Linked DNA regions of Homo sapiens: regions 2, 3, 4 and 5 are each linked to region 1. Evidence: promoter capture Hi-C in 16 types of primary human blood cells and fetal thymus (Javierre and others, 2016). All regions are on one chromosome and are shown on one strand. Each heading gives the region's core, a stretch centred on a gene start or on the middle of the fragment in contact. The rest is flanking DNA. Distances are from core to core; before and after follow the strand shown.

The links. The method cuts DNA at HindIII sites, captures the fragments that hold promoters and counts their contacts. A CHiCAGO score of 5 or more calls a contact.
Region 2: a fragment that was not itself captured here is called in contact with the fragment with the promoter of ZNF622 in region 1 in 2 of 17 cell types (non-activated CD4 T cells and naive CD4 T cells); the score reaches 8.1 in non-activated CD4 T cells.
Region 3: a fragment that was not itself captured here is called in contact with the fragment with the promoter of ZNF622 in region 1 in 7 of 17 cell types (non-activated CD4 T cells, naive CD4 T cells, naive CD8 T cells and 4 more); the score reaches 11.6 in non-activated CD4 T cells.
Region 4: a fragment that was not itself captured here is called in contact with the fragment with the promoter of ZNF622 in region 1 in 2 of 17 cell types (non-activated CD4 T cells and naive CD4 T cells); the score reaches 6.3 in non-activated CD4 T cells.
Region 5: a fragment that was not itself captured here is called in contact with the fragment with the promoter of ZNF622 in region 1 in 5 of 17 cell types (non-activated CD4 T cells, activated CD4 T cells, naive CD4 T cells and 2 more); the score reaches 6.4 in non-activated CD4 T cells.

The regions. Positions count from the first base shown.
Region 1 is chr5:16,464,352-16,467,151 of GRCh38, reverse strand. It overlaps ZNF622 (zinc finger protein 622), which reads left to right and starts at 1,352. Exons shown (of 6, transcript NM_033414.3): 1 at 1,352-2,111. The coding sequence starts at 1,487. RefSeq lists a silencer at 1-167 and an enhancer at 1,975-2,044. The HindIII fragment of the contact is 4,211 bases long and covers 1-2,800 here.
Region 2 is chr5:16,706,075-16,708,874 of GRCh38, reverse strand. The region is part of intron 21 of MYO10 (myosin X); the gene reads left to right. Among named protein-coding and RNA genes, the nearest start is that of RETREG1, 90 kb to the right of the region's middle. The HindIII fragment of the contact is 5,096 bases long and covers 1-2,800 here.
Region 3 is chr5:16,687,202-16,690,001 of GRCh38, reverse strand. It overlaps MYO10 (myosin X), which reads left to right. Exons shown (of 41, transcript NM_012334.3): 28 at 83-178. Among named protein-coding and RNA genes, the nearest start is that of RETREG1, 72 kb to the right of the region's middle. The HindIII fragment of the contact is 1,804 bases long and covers 512-2,315 here.
Region 4 is chr5:16,636,247-16,639,046 of GRCh38, reverse strand. No RefSeq gene overlaps it. Among named protein-coding and RNA genes, the nearest start is that of RETREG1, 21 kb to the right of the region's middle. The HindIII fragment of the contact is 5,203 bases long and covers 1-2,800 here.
Region 5 is chr5:16,607,168-16,609,967 of GRCh38, reverse strand. All of the region lies in intron 1 of RETREG1 (reticulophagy regulator 1), which reads left to right. Among named protein-coding and RNA genes, the nearest start is that of RETREG1-AS1, 7.4 kb to the left of the region's middle. The HindIII fragment of the contact is 6,956 bases long and covers 1-2,800 here.

The DNA.
Region 1 (2,800 bases), core at 103-2,602:
TTTGAATTTGATTGAGTCAAGGGAAGGCACTGGAAGGTTTTTTAAAGCGCCATCTTCTTTTGGTTTTCTCTTGGCAGCCTGGATTCTGAGCATGCAACATTCGACTCTAACAAGGCTGACTCTGGTTCAACCAGGCTGTGTGGATGAAATCTACGACCTCCCCAAGCATTTGAAGTTCATGTTTTCTTTTTCTTTTGAGATGGAATCTTGCTCTGTTGCCCAGGCTGGAGTGCAGTGGCGCGATCTCGGCTCACCACAACCTCCGCCTCCCGGGTTCAAGCGATTCTCCTGCCTCAACCTCCCAAGTAGCTGGGATTACAGGTCTGCGCCACTGCGCCGGGACTAATTTTTGTATTTTTTAGCAGAGACTGGGTTTCGCCATGTTGGCCAGGCTGGTCTTGAACCCCTGACCTCAGATGATCCGCCCGCCTCGGCCTCGCAAAGTGCTGGGATTACGGGCGTGAGCCACCGCGCCTGGCCTGAAGTTCTTTTCTACAGAACTTTGCTGTCCTATATACATGAGGGTACACAGCCAACTGGGCACCTGGCACGGGTCTAGTCCAAATTGAGATGGGCTGTTAACTCTAAAACACACACTGGATTTCCAAGACTTAGAACCAACGACAGAGCGTAAAAGATCTAATTAATTCTTTTAGACTGATTACATGCTGAAATGACAGGATGGGCTAAATTAAACACATTAAAAGCAGTTTCACCGATTTCTCTTTACTCTTTAAAAATGTGGCTGCTATTAGAATTACCTACGTGGCTTGGACTGTGTGTCTACAGGGAGCTCCTCTCGCGCACTCTGTGCACTCAAATTCCGCCGGTGTCCTCCGCCGGAAGGGCCGCCTCAGAAAGGCCGAGCCCCCGGCCTGGCTTCTCCGGTTTCCCGGGAAAGCGTTGCAACCACGGGCGAGGGCTCCGAGGTCGGCCCCGAGGGGTAAGGGCAGCCCTTGCCTTCGCGACATCCATTCACCCGGCTCCGCAGGTGCAGCGCGCGGTCCTCAGAGAAACCCCGACCCTCGCGTCGCTGACCCGACCATTCATTAATCGGGGGCTTCCCAGGGCCCAGGAGCAGCCTCGGGCGCCCCACTCCCCCATTCTCGCGTAGCCGTCCCCTTGACCGCGTCACACCGAGCGGCACAACCACCAGGGAAGGTAACTGGGAGGGCGCGACCTCCCTCAATCAACAGCCACCTCGGGCTGACTGAGCGGACCCAGGTCCCTTTCAGCCACAGCGTTCCCTCGGCTTCCTGGGCCTCACGGCGGCGGAGGCGTGGCCACAGCCTGAGAGGCGGGTTTCCTGTCCAGTTGTGAATAACTTCCGACGTGTGCCGGAAGTTTCCTCAGTGACAATCAGGAAGTCGGCGTGTCGAGTGGCTCTTCCTGGCTGCTGAGGCGGGTTAAGGTCTGAGGGTCTTGTGGGGCCACGGCGCTGATCACCAGGTGTTTGGCTTGGTCGGTTCTTATTTCTCGCCTGGCAATGGCGACGTACACCTGCATAACTTGCCGGGTGGCGTTCCGCGACGCGGACATGCAGCGGGCCCACTATAAGACGGACTGGCACCGCTACAACCTGCGGCGGAAGGTGGCCAGCATGGCCCCAGTGACCGCCGAGGGCTTCCAGGAGCGAGTGCGGGCGCAGCGGGCCGTCGCGGAGGAGGAGAGCAAGGGCTCGGCCACCTACTGCACCGTTTGCAGTAAGAAGTTTGCCTCTTTCAACGCCTACGAGAACCACCTCAAGTCCCGGCGTCACGTTGAGCTGGAGAAGAAGGCCGTGCAGGCAGTGAATCGGAAAGTGGAGATGATGAATGAAAAGAACTTGGAGAAAGGACTGGGCGTGGACAGTGTGGACAAGGATGCCATGAACGCGGCCATCCAGCAGGCCATCAAGGCCCAGCCGTCCATGTCTCCCAAGAAGGCGCCCCCAGCGCCTGCAAAGGAGGCCAGGAATGTCGTGGCCGTGGGTACTGGTGGCCGTGGGACCCACGACCGAGACCCGAGTGAGAAACCACCCCGGCTCCAGTGGTTTGAACAGCAGGCGAAGAAGTTGGCAAAGCAGCAGGAGGAGGACAGCGAGGAGGAGGAAGAGGACCTGGATGGAGACGGTGATGGCCCTGTCTGGGCGGGGAGGGTAAAGAGGAACTTGGCCCACCCTTAAGTTTCCAGATTTATACTCGAGATGGGTGTGTGTGTGTGTTTGAGAGCTTTTAAGTAAAAATGATGAGGGAAGGTGGTTTAGACGCTTTCTGAAGTGCCTTATCTGGCCAGCAGGTTTGGCTGTTTAGTTCACTCAATTCATTCTCCAAGGCCTAAAACCTTGTCTGGAAAAAGAAGTGCTTAATGCATATTTGGAGAATGAATTGATGCCTTCTGTGTTTTGGATGAAGAGGCTTTTAACATATGCACAGGAGGACATGCTATCGTCATACCAGCTGCCGTGTAATTTGCGATTCTAGTGGGTTTCCAGTTATGATGGTTTTGCACTTAATTTAGTTGAGTAAAACAGAATGAGGGGATCAAAACCAACTCAGCCAGAAATTTGGAGCTGGAGCCAGCACCCTCACCTCTTTGCCTTTATGAGCTATTTATTCCTTACTTCCCTCATCCCACATCCTATTAACAGTGCTGGTGTAGGTGTTCATGTCTTAGTCTGTCCACTCTGCTATAAGGAAGTACTAGAGACTGGGTGATTTATGAACAACATAAATGTATTTTCCCATAGTTCTGGAAATTGGGAAGTCCAAAATCAAGGTGCTGGCAGAGTCAGTGTCTGGTGAGGGCCTGTTCTATAGAT
Region 2 (2,800 bases), core at 90-2,589, 240 kb before region 1:
AAAGAAATTGCAAGCCAGGCACAGTGGCTCACATTTGTAATTCCAGCACTTTGGGAGGCTGAGGCAGAAGGATCGCTTGAGCCCAGGAGTCTGAGACCAGCCTGGAAAACATAGTGAGACCTTTTCTCTACTGAAATTCAGAAAAATTAGCCAGGCGTGGTGGCATGTGCCTATAGTCCCAGCTACTCGCGTGGCTAGAGTGGGAGGATTGCTCGAACCCAGGAGGTCAAGACTGCAGTGAGCCCTGATCATGCCACTGCACTCCAACCTGGGCGACAGAGTGAAACCTTGTCTCAAAAACAAAAAGAAATTGCATTCTCTATAAACGAGTCACCTCACTGCCTTCTACAGTGGAGTAACATTAGAGATCATTAAAACTCAACCCAGCCATTAACAGTCTTTTCTGGGCTCCAAGTACTAATCCAGCTTCACTTAGAATTTACATTATGGAAATCAGGCCCAAGGCAGGCTTGGGACGTAGTGTAGCATAGGGGACACAGAGACATGGGCGTTGTCCTCAGTTTACTGTGTTGGAAGATAAGATATTCACACACAGTGGATGAATTAAATCATGCAGTACAATCTTTTTAAAGGAGTAAGGAAACAGCTTCTTCAGGAGAGAGATCCCTATGGATTGAAATGATCAAGGAAGTATTCAAGATGAAGAAGTTTTTAAAGAGGAGTTCAGTTTTAATTGGTGAAAAGTTGGGAGTAGAAGTTGGATGGAAGTTTATTTTTCCACAGACATGTTAGGAAGTAAATGCAAACATCAAAGCATTTGAATTGTGGCTTCTTGATAGCTTTGATCTTGACCAGTGTTTGAGTTACATGTTGGATAGCAGGTGTTTTGGTGTGTTGCCACCAGAAGGTCTTTCTGTTTAAAGCCTCAAACCTCTAATGAACTTCTGGTCTTCTGGTAAAGGAATGTCTGCCGTACACAACAGGCAAGTTTAGCCAGTGTCGAAGGCAGCGAATTAGACATGGCTCCAGGTCTGAACTGGCTGACTTATCCAAAACATATTTGTTCTTGTAAGGCAAGCATTCTTACCTAGAGGACTGGAGAAGCATTACTAGGAATTGAAGCGGCCTGTCGGATGCTTCACGGCACAGCCCGTGGGGAGGAGATTGCAATGTATTTCCCTGCTGAACAGCTGCGTTTACGGTGACTGAGGTGGGCAGCTGGTCCCTCTCCTTCCTGGTTTTGGCTTTTCCCACTGCCTCAAGGATTCCTGAAGACTCAAGACTTTTACTTTTCTGACCCTCTGGACTTCAGTGTCAGACTTTTCTTCCTCAGTTCTGTGGCAATGAAGCATGCAGGAGGTATTTTTATAAAGACAGTGTACTAGAATAACCCACAGGATCTTAAGCTACCTAAGAAGATAAAAGTGAAAAAGAACCACGTGAAATGGTTCCTGTTGGATATTGAGTCAAGTTCAGCCAAGCAGCGCCTGAGTGGGTACCACCCTTTGCTCAGCTGCTTTGGTGCCTGCTTTGATGCCACATTCCCAGTCACTAGGTTGTGCCAACTTGGTCTTGGCTGAGTCCTGGGAACATGGCAAAGTGACACAAGGGCTCACAGAAACACTTTCTGTATTAGTCTGTTCTCACACTGCTAATAAAGACATACCCGAGACTGGGTAATTTATAAAAGAAAGAGGTTTAATGGACTCACAGTTCCACATGGCTGGGGAGGCCTCATGATCATGGCAGAAGATGAAGGAAGAGTAAAGGCACATCCTACATGGCAACAGGCAAGAGAGCATGTGCAGGGCAACTCCCCTTTTTAAAACTATCAGATCCCATGAGACTTATTCACTGTCGTGAGAACAGCATGGGAAAGACCTGCGCCCATGATCCAATTACCTCCTACCAGGTCCCTCCCATGACACATAGGAATTATGGGAGCTACAATTCAAGATGAGATTTGAGTGGGGACACAGCCAAACCTATCACTTTCCTTCTGTCATTGTCTAATTCAGGGTTCGTGTTCTTAATGAAACTGACAGGTCCCTAAAAGCATTTTCTCTATTTGTTTGCCCTTTAGGTTGGTGAAGGAGAATGTAAATAAAGATGTGGAAGAATGCTTTTTAAAAACATATTTATTTATTTATTTTGAGAGCTGTCTTTTTAATGGACTGAAAACTAAAGCAAGTATTTGTCTGATTCTGATTCTAACCAAGACATTCTTTTGACTTCCAATGGTGGAGAAGACCTTTGTTCCTTCACAAAGGTTTCCACTTGTTCACGTCATCGCTGTGTCACTCATGAGAGTTGACACTTTTGTCTCTTTCGTCACCACCACCCCCTTCCCCAAGATTTGGCTGTTATTTTTCCTTTTAAGCACTCATAAGAGCAAAAGCATTAGAGTAAGATATGTAATACCAAACAAAAATCTCAGAGAAGTTGAAATGCTTCCTTAAAAGTCCAGTCTTGATGAAAACTGCTTTTGCTACGTGATTTTGATATGTACAGGGAATTCTGTATTTCTGAACATCTTTAATGATGATTACATCCAACAAACTTTACACTTGTAGCTTCTGCACCAACAGAGTGTGTGTGTGTGTATATATATATTCTCATGTATATGTATATGTGAATATATATGTGTATATATGAGTATATGTGTATATATATGAGTGTGTATATATATGAGTATGTACGTGTGTGTATATATATGTATATATGTTGCTTTGAGACAGAATCTCACTCTGTTGCCCAGGCTGGAGTGCAGCAGCATGATCTTGGCTCACTGCAACCTCTGCCTCCCAGGTTCAAGCGATTCTTCTGCCTCAGCCTCCCA
Region 3 (2,800 bases), core at 164-2,663, 220 kb before region 1:
CATTGGCTTCATTAGTTGCTTTCCTCAGTTATTCAGAATTTGGTGTTCCTGATGTGCGTTTGTTGCTTTTGCTTCTTTGCAGAGAGATCATAGATAACACCACCAAGGAGAATGGGATCGACATCATTATGGCCGATAGGACTTTCCACCTGATTGCAGAGTCCCCAGAAGATGCCAGGTGAGTCTGCGCTGTTGACTTTGTGTTACCCACATCCTGCTCCCTCATGCACAGGTGTGAGCATCACACAGAGCACTGTTTACTGTACTGGCCTTGAAAAATTTTAATTGACTTTTTTTGAAGAACCAAGAGTCATACGAGATTGATGCACTTGTCCCTTGGGGAATCTTTCCCTGGGCAAATGTGTTCAAGTACAGCACAGAGTTCAGGATTTCCAGCCTCCAGTGCCACTAGACAGATCCATTGTCACCTGTCTCTCAGGCTGTTACTGTCACCGGTAGCGTGTGTAAATTATACAGCTGCATGAAGCTGAAAATCTACCCTCTGGAAGCTTCTGAGCTTTGAAAGTGAATCATTTGTGTTTGCATAAGGACGAAAAAGGGCAGGGAGCAGTAACTAATGGCTGTTTAAGTAACTGATAGTGCTATGGCACTGGGGGGTTTTAAAGATCTTAATATTGAAGAATTCAACGGAAGAGGTACTAACTTACACAGAACTTACTATTAGCTTGGTGCAAAAGTAATCACAATTATATTTCAGGCTAATATTCTAAATGTTTCATACCTAAGTATTTCAGGAAGTATTCTAAATGCTTCATAAATATTAACTCTTTTGATTCTCTTGGATCCTGCAAGGTAGACATTAATTATTACCATCATCCATACTTTGCAGAATAAGAGACTAGGGTACAGAGAACGGTTAGTATCATTTGTAATGCAGTGCAACCTCAATTCTGTTGAATGGAGACATTGAACTTCTTAAAAACATTTGCTCCTAAGGAGCTTTAACTTTTGACTGAGATTAGAAGAGGGTGGAGGCCTTCATTGGCTGGGGCAAGTTGTCTGTAGCTTCCTGGACTTCAGGTTTCCATGCTGGAGTGCTGAGGAGACATAGCACAAAATTAAGGAGACTTAGCATTTGCTCTTCAGTGTGATGGATCACAGGGTCACCTTGTGGATCTGACACCGTGGAACGTCTGTCCTGTCTATTCCTGCAGCTTGTGAGTTTGTGAGTCTGCAGGGTTATGCTGGAGGTGTCTGAGCAATGCCAGAGAACATCTTTTTTTTTTTTTTCTTTTTTTTTGAGACAGAGTTTCTCTCTTGTTGCCCAGGCTGGAGTGCACTGGTGCAATCTTGGCTCACCGCAGCCTCCACCTTCCAGGTTCAAGCAATTCTCCTGCCTCAGCCTCCCAAGTGGCTGGGATTACAGGCATGCACCACCACGCCTGGCAAATGTTGTATTTTTTATAGAGATGGGGTTTCTCCATGTTGGTCAGGCTGGTCTCGAACTCCCGATCTCAGATGATCTGCCCATCTCAGCCTCCCAAAGTGCTGGGATTACAGGCGTGAGCCTCTTCCTGGCTGAGAACGTCTTTTAATTTACGAGGGTAACATCCAATAGCCGAATTCTTCAATTCTCAGCCCCAAGATCATTAGGACCTTCTAGTATGTTCTCAGGACCCCTCACTACCCCTTGCCCTTTGAATCTTTCTGAGTTGATACAGTACCATGATAGCAACATTAAGGGTAAAGACACCAGAAAATAATTCTTCCCATGGGAACAAACTAAAACACCTGCTTAGACCCATAAATTCTAACACAAACTGGAAAAACAAGCAAACCTGGAATTATAGCCCATCATTCTGTCTGGGACTCCTGGAGACCACATGTGGTTGTTTGTGGCCCAGGGAATGCCTGCAGCTTTTCAGCTGAATTATAGGCCCAGCGTTTGGCAGCTGCCCTGTCTGTTTTATGCCACGATGAACCTGCTAAATTTAACCTTTGGAATATTTTAGCCAAGGACTTTTTCTCCTGACCAGTGGAACACTATTTTAAAAAAATTCCTTTTCAGATTCCAAGTTATACTTGATTCAAGAGAAGAAATTTATAAATTTAAGAGTCTAATCTAGACAGAATTGAAAGTGCAACAAATTTGATGCCTTTGTGTATGTGATTCCTACAACTTGAATGTATGTCTTTTTCAATGTTTAATTTGGGATATTTTTGAGATGAGCAAAGCAATGAAGTCTTGCTGTTTGGTTAACCAGAATGGATAGTGCAAATTTATATTAAAGTGTTTTCCTTGTTGTATACAAGAGATATGCATATCTCTTGTATATGTTGAATATTTTCAAGCTTGTAGTCACATTTTTCTCCCTTAGGAAGCACGCGAGATAGATTTTAGTGCTTTGCTGTAAATCGTTTGCACAGCCTACCTTTACATATGGTGTCATTTTTTTAACTTAAACATGCCATTGGATACCAAGTACTTCCCCTCTGCCTTAAACAGTAGGAGTATATATATATTTTGTGTCTTATAAGCCCCCAGCAGGAGAAGGATACCCTAGCGTCTCTTTCATATTTGATAGCGCTCACATTTTGTAGTTGGTCAGTAAATGCTAGATGGATGCATGTCTGTTCATAGTCATTTTCCTGATGCTTTGTTCTGCTTGATTTTTCTTAAGTTGACATGTTTTGTTTCGTTTTGTATTTGTTTTTTTTGTGAGGCAGAGTTTTGCTCTGTCACCCAGGCTGGAGTGCAGTGGAATAATCGTGGCTCATTGCAGCCTTGGCCTTCTGGGCTCAGGTGATCCTCCTGCCTCAGCCTCCCGAGTAGCTGGGA
Region 4 (2,800 bases), core at 219-2,718, 170 kb before region 1:
AAAATCTTTCATTGGTTTCTCATCACTATTTAGAATAAAATTGAGTCTCCTTCCATGGTCTGCGAAGTCCTGCACTGTGGTCCACTCTGCCACCTCTCCAACCTCATCCCCATCGCTTTTCCATCCCCAGCCCTGGTGTCCTCTGCTCTTCTTGTTTCTTGAGCATTTCAAGCTGGTTCTGGCTTCACAATCCTCACCCCTGCTGTTCACTGTCTAGCATTGGCTTGCCTGCAGAATTTCACATTACTGGCTGCCTTACTTCATTTAAGTGTCTGCTTAAAAGTCACTTCCCTGAGGGTGGAGCCAAGGTGGCCAAATAGGAACACCTCCAGTCTACAGCTCCCAGTGCGAGCAACGCAGAAGACGGGTGATTTCTGCATTTCCAACTGAGTTACTGGGTTCATCTCACTGGGGAGTGTCAGAAAGTGGGTGCAGGACAGTGGGTGCAGCACACCGCATGTGAGCCGAAGCAGGGCAAGACATCGCCTCACCCGGAAAGCTCAAGGGGTCAGGGAATTCCCTTTCCTAGTCAAAGAAAGGGGTGACAGCACCTGGAAAATCAGGTCACTCCCACCCTAATACAGCGCTTTTCCAACAGTCTTAGCAAACGGCACACCAGGAGATTATATCCTGCGCATGGCTCGGAGGGTCCTACGCCCACAGAGCCTTGCTCATTGCTAGCACAGCAGTCTGAGATCAAACTGCAAGGTGGCAGCGAGACTGGCGGAGGGGCGCCCGCCATTGCCCAGGCTTGAGTAGGTAAACAAAGTGGCCATGAAGCTCGAACTGGGTGGAGCCCACCATAGCTCAAGGAGGCCTGCCTGCCTCTGTAGGATCCACTTCTGGGGGCAGGGTATAGCCAAACAAAAGGCAGCAGAATCCTCTGCAGACTTAAATGTCCCTGTCTGACAGTTTTGAAGAGAACAGTGGTTCTCCCAGCACACAGCTGGAGATCTGAGAACGGGCAGACTGCCTCCTCAAGTGGGTCCCTGATCCCCGAGTAGCCTAACTGGGAGGCACACCCCAGTAGGGGCAGACTGACACCTCACACAGCCGGGTACTCCTCTGAGACAAAACTTCCAGAGGAACAATAAGGCAGCAACATTTGCTGTTCACCAATATCCGCTGTTCTGCAGCCTCTGCTGCCGATACCCAGGCAAACAGGGTCTGGAGTGGACCTCCAGCAAACTCCAACAGACCTGCAGCTGAGGGTCCTGACTGTTAGAAGGAAAACTAACAAACAGAAAGGACATCCACACCAAAACCCCATCTGTACATCACCATCATCAAAGACCAAAGGTAGATAAAACCACAAAGATGGGGGGAAAAAGCAGAGCAGAAAAACTGGAAACTCTAAAAATCAGAGCACCTCTCCTCCTCCAAAGGAACACAGCTCCTCACCAGCAATGGAACAAAGCTGGATGGCGAATGACTTTGACAAGTTGAGAGAAGAAGGCTTCAGACGATCAAACTACTCTGAGCTAAAGGAAGAAGTTCGAACCCACGGCAAATAATTGAAAAACCTGGAAAAAAATTAGACAAATGGCTAACTAGAATAACCAATGCAGGGAAGTCCTTAAAGGACCTGATGGAGCTGAAAACCAAGGCAAGAAAACTATGTGACAAACGCACAAGCCTCAGTAGCCGATGTGATCAACTGGAAGAAAGGGTATCAGTGATGGAAGATCAAATGAATGAAATGAAGCGAGAAGAGAAGTTTAAAGAATAAAAAGAAATGAACAAAGCCTCCAAGAAATATGGGACTATGTGAAAAGACTAAATCTACGTCTGATTGGTGTACCTGAAAGTGACTGGGAGAATGGAACCAAGTTGGAAAACACTCTGCAGGATATTATCTAGGAGAACTTCCCCAATCTAGCAAGGTAGGCCAACATTCAAATTCAGGAAATACAGAGAACACCACAAAGATACTCGTCGAGAAGAGCAACTCCAAGACACATAATTATCAGATTCACCAAAGTTGAAATGAAGGAAAAAATGTTAAGGGCAGCCAGAGAGAAAGGTCGGGTTACCCACAAAGGGAAGACCATCAGACTAACAGCTGATCTCTCTGCAGAAACTCTACAAGCCAGAAGAGAGTGGGGACCAATATTCAATATTCTTAAAGAATTTTCAACCCAGAATTTCATATCCAGCCAAACTGAGCTTCATAAGTGAAGGAGAAATAAAATACTTTACAGACAAGCAAATGCTGAGAGATTTTGTCACCACCAGGCCTGCCCTAAAAGAGCTCCTGAAGGAAGCACTAAACATGGAAAGGAACAACCAGTACCAGCCACAGCAAAAACATGCCAAATTGTAAAGACCATCAAGGCTGGGAAGAAACTGCATCAACTAATGAGCAAAATAACCAGCTAACATCATAATGACAGGAACAAATTCACACATAACAATATTAACCTTAAATGTAAATGGGCTAAATGCTCCAATTAAAAGACACAGACTGGCAAATTGGATAAAGAGTCAAGACCCATCAGTGTGCTGTATTCAGGAAACCCATCTCACGTGCAGAAACACACACAGGCTCAAAATAAAGGGATGGAGGAAGATCTACCAAGCAAATGGAAAACAAAAAAAAGGCAGGGGTTGCAATCCTAGTCTCTGATAAAACATACTTTAAACCAACAAAGATCAAAAGAGACAAAGAAGGCCATTATATAATGGTCAAGGGATCAATTCAACAAGAAGAGCTAACTATCCTAAATATATATGCACCCAATACGGGGGCACCCAGATTCATAAAGCAAGTCCTTAGAGACCTAGAAAGAGACTTAGACTC
Region 5 (2,800 bases), core at 76-2,575, 140 kb before region 1:
TGGGTTTTCTCCAGCTCTCTAGGTGATTCAATACATGTTCCAGTTTGAGAACCATTATGTTTGAGCACTTTCTGGAATTGTGAGCTGTCTTCTCCATAAGGCAGCATTTCCATTGCTGGGCGGCACTCACTGGTCAGTGTTTTCCTTACATGAAGGCCATTGCTTGATTGTCTCCGCAGCTGCCCAGGATGTAGGCCCCTCCCCAGGATCGCCCTTTGTGTGTTTCAAAATCCATTCTCTTCTTGGTTCCCACTGAGTCTTCTCTTCCCCGGCTGAGAAATCCTGGGCCCTTCCACTCACCGCTGTCCTGTCTCGTTTGCAGATCCTTCTGGCCGGGCTTCAGTTCATCTGTATTCTGCCTGGAATGCAGCATTCCTTAGGTGGCCTGGCCGCTGCATACTCTCTCCCTTCCTCCTGGATGGCGTCCTTCTAGCCTCACAGCCTGAGATAGAATTTCTTTACTACAGTTGACAATAACTCCCTTTTACAGATGCTACTATCGCTGGTTGTTAGACTCTTAAAAATAAGTAAATATATATCATTTAGTGCTTTGTCAAAGTATGGCTATATGTATAGTTATATACAGTTACAGTTATATACAGTTACAGACTTCAGTAAAGTCAAACTTTACTAAAGTTATGATAAAGGGTGTTCACATGTAGCATCGTATTTAAACCTTGCAGGAACCCAGTGAGGCATGTGTTGTTCCCATTTTACACAGGAGGAAACAGGAGGCCCAGAAAAAAGTTAACTGAACACCAAAGATGACGTTGACCGGTACTGTTCAATAGAATGTTTGTAGTGATGGACATAGTCTGCCTTTGCACTGCCTGTTATGGTAGCTTCCTGTGGCTGTTGAGCATGTGAAGTGTGGCTAGTGGGACTCGGAATGCCATTTGACTTTTATTTAAGTGTAAGTTTAAATAGCCACACAAGGCTAGTAGCTGCTGTGTTAGCATAGTCTTAGATAAGTGCTGAAGCTGGGTAATGAAGCAGCGTCCATTTTCCCTAAATTCAATGATTTTTCTACCCCATCTCTCTAAAGAAAAATAGGAGACTATTAGGGCTTACTTTTTTCAATATTACAGAATCATACTTAATGATTTCAGCACAGAGTGAAAAAATTATATTGGGAGAGGGTTGCTTCTGCATGAATGGGAAGGATCTTTTTAGACTGTCAGCCAGCCTGGTCCAAGTTCCTCGCCTTATCTTTGTTCCGTCTGAGTAGTCGGTACCTGTGAATGAGTGTCTGCTCCCTACCCAGTGTGGTCAAGGGGGTATACCTGGGCCCAGGGGGTATACCAGAAGCCCAGTGCCTGAACTCAGAGAGCCTACCCACTGGTTTAGGAGACACAGCTGATTTGGTGAATCGATTGAGAGAGTATGTCACAGTTCCAAATTGCATGTCATGGTCTCCAGGGCTTTACAGTTGAGGACAAAGTGGGGATGAGGGAGGTTTGGAATAGCTGATGAAAGTCTTGTGAGATTTATTGTATAAGCCCAGAAGAAAAGGTATAGTTTTAAAAGTGAGGTTAATGGTGAGCGATTTCCATGTAGGACAAACTCAGGAAGAAATGGGAGATGAGCACTGGATGTTGTCAGGATGGAGAGACTCTCCTGACTCACACTGAGGGTCTGTTTTGGGGACAGATAATTAATCTTGGGTTGCCGGATCCACATGAGATCTGAAACACTGTAGATGTTAAAAAAGGTTTGGTGAAATGAGCTGGACTAGAGGATATTCCCCTATGGTGAATAAGGTGGGGCTATTTAAAGACAGTGAGAGTGGGCCGGGCACGGTGGCTCACAATTGTAATCTCAGCACTTTGAGAGGCTGAGGTGGGCATATCACCTGAGGTCAGGAGTTCAAGACCAGCCTGGCCAACATGGTGAAACTCCATCTCTATTAAAAATACAAAAATTAGCTGGGCATGGTGGCATGCGCCTGTAATCCCAGTTACTTGGGAGGCTGGGGCAGGAGATTCACTTGATTTCGGGAGGTAGAGGTTGCAGTGAGCTGAGATCACGCCACCCCACTCCAGCCTGGACGACAGAGTGAGACTCTGTCTCAAAAAAATAAATAAAAAATAAAAACAGTGAGAGTGGAGGGGAGGGGAGGGGAGGGGAGATTTATGTGCTTGCTAGGGGGAATACCCAGAGGTGAGGCTGCAAATTCAAAGGGTGGGGCCAGGTTTTGAAGAGGTTACTATTGGACCATGCTAAGGAATTTGGATGACATGAAATAAGCAATACCCATCTATTACCCTAATATTAATACCATAATATTCCTCCCTTTCTTTCAGGACCTCCATTAAAATATACAACAAGTATTTCTTTTTTTGTTTTTTTAAATTGAGACAGAGTGTTGCTCTGTCTTCCAGGCTGGAGTGCAGTGGTGTGATCTTGGCTCACTGCAGTCTCCGCCTCCTGGGTTCAAGCGATTCTCCTGCCTCAGCCTCCCAAGTAGCTGGGATTACAGGCACCTGCCACCACACCCAGCTAATTTTTGTATTTTTAGTAGAGACAGGGTTTTACCATGTTGGCCGGGATAATCTTGAACTCCTGGCCTCAGGTGATCTGCCCATCTTGGCCAGCCGAGCCACCACGCCTGGCCAAAATATGACAAATATTTCCTGAGTGTGTGCTATATGCTGACACTGTTCTTGGTGCGGGGGATATAACAGCGGACAAACAGGTGAGATCCCTGTTCTCCCAGAGCTTATATTCTAGTGGTGAAAGTGGTAAAAAAAAATACAATAAACAAATATACAAAATGCCAGAAAAGGCCGGATGTTATGAA